2 separate regions of the Homo sapiens genome follow, and region 2 is linked to region 1. The links are contacts of gene promoters, found by promoter capture Hi-C in human tissues and cell types (Jung and others, 2019). All regions are on one chromosome and are shown on one strand. The core of a region is centred on a gene start or on the middle of the fragment in contact, and the rest is flanking DNA. Distances in the headings are between cores, read along the strand shown.

Region 1 (3,176 bases), core at 430-2,929:
AGATATTTTCACTAGTCAATTAATGGAAGATAGAATAGGATTTAGAGGATTTATTTGCATCCTGGCTGTATGTAAGGAATTCAATATTGATTCACTTATTAATTCTCACAGTGAATAAACATCCAACACAGTGAATCAGTATTCATAGTTTGATGTTTACCCTTAGAAAAATTTCCAAAGATTTTTAAATGTGTTCCTTCCTCCATCTTCAAATGATTATGCTTATTTCACTGCAATGAGGATTGACAAAGCTTCTCACATTGCCATTCTGGAAGTGGTAACAATGTAACATACTTTTGCAAATTTTATAAAACTATACAACCATGTGAAACACATGGCTAGGGAACCTTCCAAGGGCTCCTAAGGGTCATGTCCAAGAGAAGGGCCCTGAAACTTAAGCTTCATTAGAGTCACGATAAGATAGCTTCTAAGTCACTGAGGGTATGAATGCAAAATTGCAAATACTGAATGTTTCCTCCAGATAATAAGGATTAAAAGATCAAGAGGCAGATAAAGAGAGCTACCTAGGAAGTTGTTCAAATAAAATATATTTCCAGCGATACAGCTTTAGGATTTCTGTTTTGTTCTGTTTTCCATTTGGTAGGGTAGGAGAAAGAGAAATAGAAAGAGGAGGAATAGTAGGAGTGGAGAGGAGGATAAGGGGCTGGGAATGTGTGTGTGTGTGTGTGTGTGTGTGTGTGTGTGTGTGTGTGAGAGAGAGAGAGAGAGAGAGAGAGAGAGAGAGAGGAGCTGTCAGACCAGAGGTGATGAATGAGGCTAGTGTCTTGACAAGGCATTCAGGGGAAGACTTTGCAGAAGGCAGGATCAAAGTAGTCTGAGTGCATGGAGAGGTTAAAGTAAGCAAAGATATTTTCTGTAGAGATGCATTACAGGAGAATTAAAGAGGAAACACTTTTGGCCCTGCTCTCTACTAAAAGAAGACAAAATTGGAAGCACTTCAGTGAAGCAGTGGGGTTGAATTTCACTTCTAAGGGACAGGGATCAGTGGGCACTAGGAAATTAGTGAGTCTGGACTATTTCTAAAGAAAGTAATCCATTCTGAAACAAAGTTCACAAGTGTAATAAAAAGTATACTGTTTTCATGAATCTTCATCTTTCAGGCTGAGTTTCAGTTTTTTCTTTGTCTTTAACCGTGTCAGTGGGCTGCTTACTCTGCTTCTCATTTGCTGTTCTTTCCTTCCATGAAAAGAACCCGTTTGTAACTCTTCCATTTCTTAGCTGCATAGAAGCAGGATTCAGTCCATCACTGACGATGGAAATGTAATCATATCCCTAGTCAACATAGATAATGTCAACAAAGAGAAAGACTATCCTAGTACATTTCAAATGCTCAGTTTAGCCCCTGTCTACTGGTGCCTAATTCAACACAAGCACTGTAGTGGCACTTAAGGCCATGCTGTCCCTGATAACACCAGGATTTCATCTGACCTGCGTCCCACTTCAGGCTCATCTGCAGCCTAATTTGGTTCTGATGATGTTTAAGAAAATGAACTGACCTTTATAAATTCCTTCCCATCCCTGCCACAACCTTATAGGTTCCATATCACTGAGCTGAGATCCTTTGGAGCTAGAGAGAAAGCTGCTTGATGAGAAGTAGTAAAAGTTCTTACCTGTTCTTTTTCTCCTTAGTTCACGAGCACTGGCTTCTAGCACTTCTGTGTCTCTCACTGGATCCCTGGACTAATATTTCACTGTTCCGAAGTTGTAGGGCTGGGATTTCCTCATTGATGAAATATTTAGAAGCTAAGCAGATTTGTAATGGATTTAGAGTAATATGAAACTGAAAGTACTTCGTTCAAATCACTGACTCCACTACCATAAATGGAATTAGTGGAGTGTGCCAGTGGGAGGGTTTAAAGATTTCTCAACCAGAAGCTTCAAATTTTTTTTGTTGTTGTTGGAAATCTTAGAGACCATTTGTTGTCTAACAAAATGCCCATTAGGTTTTGAATACAATGATACATGTCTCATGGATTGAGTCAATTTGAGAAACCTAGAATGAGGAGGCATCATGTTAATTTTCAGCTACAATTTCCTAAAATAATAGACACACTCTCAATGGAGCTGCCTATTCTTTGAGAGGTGCAGTACATAAGGAAAGGACATGTTTAACACACTCATGAACACCTAACCCCTGGCACTTAATGCCCAGCACACAGCCAGGAGGGGGCTCCATGTGTTGTACTCATGTTCTAGGCTCAGTACTGATGGCTTTACATGAATCGCACAACTGAAAACTCATAATATTTCCTCATGGTTTTATAGAAACTGAGCACAGAAAGACTTTATTAGTTGTCTAAAATCATAACACTGTAACTAATCTGAACCCAAGCACTCATGATCCCATACCCTCTTCTTGAACCACTTCACTATGCTGCTTATTTACTAAGTGAAAAATTGTAGAAATATTTTATTTATAGGTTTTTTATTTTTAAATTTATTATAGTGTGATTTTATTTTTATAGATTGTTTTCTAAGAGCTGTTTGTGTTTTATGTCTAATTCAGTAATGACTTCTAGCATACAGAATAAGTGGCATTATCTCTATTTTACAGCAAAAGCAAATAAAATAGTAAAAAGCCTGAGTGAACATTTCATTTAAAAATATATTTATAGTGATGTGGTTTCACTTTGTTGCTTAGGTTGGTCTTGAACTCCTTCCTTCAAATGATCCCCCTGCCTCGGCCTCCCAAATTGCTGGGATTATAGGCATGAGCCACCAGACCCAACCTTGTGTGAGCATTTCTTTTTTTTTCTTTTTCTTTTTCTTTTTTTTTTTTTTTTTTTTTGAGATGGAGTTTCACTCTTGTTGCCCAGGCTGGAGTGCAGTGGCACGATCTCGGCTCACTGCAACCTCCGCCTCCTGGGTTCAATCAATTCTCCTGCCTCAGCCTCCCAAGTAGCTGGGACTACAGGCATGTACCACTATCCTGGCTAATTTTGTATTTTTAGTAGAGATGGGGTTTCTCCATGGTGGTCAGGCTGGTCTCGAACTCCCGACCTCAGATGATCCACCCACCTTGGCCTCCCAAAGTGCTGGGATTACAAGTGTGAGCCACCAGGCCTGGCCAAGCATTTCTCACTTACACATTAAAATTATATATTAGATGTATATAAATTGCAGATACAGTGTCTTTTCTCATTCATACTTTGTAA
Region 2 (3,172 bases), core at 582-3,081, 180 kb after region 1:
AAAAAAAAAAAAAAAAAAAAAAGAGAGAGAGTGGGTGCCAATATTCAACATTCTCAAAGAAAAGAATTTTCAACCCAGAATTTCATATCCAGCCAATCTAAGCCTCATAAGTGAAGGAGAAATAAAATCCTTTACAGACAAGCAAATGCTGACAGATTTTCTTACCACCAGGCCTGCCTTACAGGAGCTCCTGAAGGAAGCACTAAACATGGAAAGGAACAACTGGTACCAGCCACTGCAAAAACATGCCAAATGGTAAAGACCATAGATGCTATGCAGAAACTGCATCAATTAATGGGCAAAGTAACCAGCTAACATCATAATGACAGGATCAAATTCACACATAACAATATTAACCTTAAATGTAAATTGGTTAAATGCCCCAATTAAAACACACAGACTGGCAAATTGGATAAAGAGTGAAGACCCATCAGTGTGCTGTAATCAGGACATCCATCTCACGTGCAGAGACACACATAGGCTCAAAATAAAGGGATGGAGGAAGATCTACCAAGCAAATGGAAAGGAAAAAAAAGCAGGGGTTGCAATTCTAGTCTCTGATAAAACAGACTTTAAACCGACAAAGATCAAAAGAGACAAAGAAGGCCATTACATAATGGTAAAGGGATCAATTCAACAAGAAAAGTTAACTATCCTAAATATACATGCACCCAATACAGGAGCACCCAGATTCATAAAGCAAGTCCTTAGAGATCTACAAAGAGACTTAGACTCCCACACAATAATAATGGAAGACTTTAACACCCCACTGTGAATATTAAACAGATCAATGAGACAGAAGGTTAACAAGGATATCCAGGACTTGAACTCAGCTCTGCACCAAGTGGAGCTAATAGACATGTACGGAACTCTCCACCCCAAATCAACAGAATATACATTCTTCTCAGCACCACATCACACTTGTTCTAGAATTGACGACATAATTGGAAGTAAAGCACTCCTCAGCAAATATAAAAGAACAGAAATCACAACAAACTATCTCTCAGACCACAGTGCAATCAAATTAGAACTCAGGATTAAGAAACTCACTCAAAACTGCACAACTACATGGAAACTGAACAATCTGCTCCTGAATGACTACAGGGTAAATAACAAAATGAAGGCAGAAATAAAGATGCTCTTTGAAACCAAGGAGAACAAAGACACAACAGACCAGAATCTCTGGGACACATTCAAAGCAGTGTGTAGAGGGAAATTTTAGCACTAAATGCCCACAAGAGAAAGCAAGAAAGATCTAAAATCGACACCCTAACAACACAATTAAAAGAACTAGAGAAGCAAGAGCAAACAAATTCAAAAGCTAGTAGAAGGCAAGAAATAACTAAGATCAGAGCAGAAATAACTAAGATCAGAGCAGAAATGAAGGAAATAGAGACACAAAAAACCCTTCAAAAAATCAATGAATCCAGGAGCTGGTTTTTTGAAAAGATCAACAAAATTGATAGACCCCTAGCAAGACTAATAAAGAAGAAAAGAGAGAAGAATCAAATAGATGCAATAAAAAATAATAAAGGGGATATCACCACAGATCCCACAGAAATACAAACTACCATCAGAGAATACTATAAACACCTCTACACAAATAAACTAGAAAATCTAGAAGAAATGAATAAATTCCTTGACACATACACCCTCCCAAGACTAAACCAGGAAGAAGTTGAATCTCTGAATAGACCAATAACAGGCTCTGAAATTGAGGCAATAATTAACAGCCTACCAACCAAAAAGTCCAGGACCAGACAGATGCACAGCCAAATTCTACCAGAGGTACAAAGAGGAGCTGGCACCATTCCTTCTGAAACTATTCCAATCAATAGAAAAAGAGGGAATCCTCCCTAACTCATTTTATGAAGCCAGCATCATCCTGATACCAAAGCCTGACAGAGACACAACAAAAAAAGAAAGTTTTAGACCAGTATCCCTGATGAACATCGATGCAAAAATCCTCAATAAAATACTGGCAAACTGAATCCAGCAGTACATCCAAAAGCTTATCCACCACAATCGAGTCGGCTTCATCCCTGGGATGCAAGGCTGGTTCAACATACACAAATCAATAAACACAATCCATCACATAAACAAAACCAACGACAAAAACCACATGATTATCTCAATAGATGCCGAAAAGGCTTTTGACAAAATTCAACAGCACTTCATGCTAAAAACCTCAGTAAACTAGGTACTGATGGAACGTATCTCAAAAAAATAAGAGCTATTTATGACAGTCCCACAGCCAATATCATACTGAATGGGCAAAAACTGGAAGCATTCCCTTTGAAAACCAGCACAATACAAGGATGCCCACGCTCATCACTCTTATTCAACATAGTGTTGGAAGTTCTGGCAGGGGCAATCAGGGAAGAGAAAGAAATAAAGGGTATTCAATTAGGAAAAGAGGAAGTAAAATTGTCCCTATTTGCAGATGACATGATTGTATATTTAGAAAACCCCATCGTCTCAGCCCAAAATCTCCTTAAGCTGATAAGCAACTTCAGCCAAATCTCAGGATACAAAATCAATTGCAAAAATCACAAGCATTCCTATACACCAAGAACAGACAAGCAGAAAGCCAAATCATGAGTGAACTCCCATTCACAACTGCTACAAAGAATAAAATACCTAGGAATCCAACTTACAAAGGATGTGAAGGACATCTTCAAGGAAAACTACAAACCACTGCTCAATGAAATAAAAGAGGACACAAACAAATGGAAGAACATTCCATGCTCATGGATAGGAAGAATCAATATCATGAAAATGGCCATATTGCCCAAGGTAATTTATAGATTCAATGCCATCCCCATCAAGCTACCAATGACTTTCTTCACAGAATTGGAAAAAAACTACTTTAAAGTTCATGTGGAACCAAAAGGAGACCGCATTGCCAAGACAATCCTAAACAAAAAGAACAAAGCTGAAGGCATCATGCTACCTGACTTCAAACTTTACTACAAGGCTACAGTAACCAAAACAGCATGGTACTGGTATCAAAACAGAGATATAGACCAATGGAACATAACAGAGCCCTCAGAAATAACACCACACATCTACAACCATCTGATCTTTGACAAACCTGACAAAAACAAGAAATGGGGAAAGGATTCCCTATTTAATAAATGGTGCTGGGGAAACTGGCTAGCCATATGTAGAA

The links. Contacts are between HindIII fragments. The study calls those that stand out against the background at their distance.
Region 2: a contact is called between a fragment that was not itself captured here and the fragment with the promoter of GBP1 in region 1, in 1 of the 25 tissues and cell types used here (H1 embryonic stem cells).

What each region holds. Positions count from the first base shown.
Region 1 is chr1:89,063,529-89,066,704 of GRCh38, forward strand. GBP1 (guanylate binding protein 1) reads right to left here and starts at 1,680. Exons shown (of 11, transcript NM_002053.3): 1 at 1,632-1,680. The region is part of intron 2 of LOC105378841 (a long non-coding RNA gene); the gene reads left to right. RefSeq lists an enhancer at 1,877-1,976. The HindIII fragment of the contact is 6,241 bases long and covers 1-3,176 here.
Region 2 is chr1:89,244,930-89,248,101 of GRCh38, forward strand. It overlaps the pseudogene LOC100421401. Among named protein-coding and RNA genes, the nearest start is that of GBP5, 26 kb to the right of the region's middle. The HindIII fragment of the contact is 3,645 bases long and covers 10-3,172 here.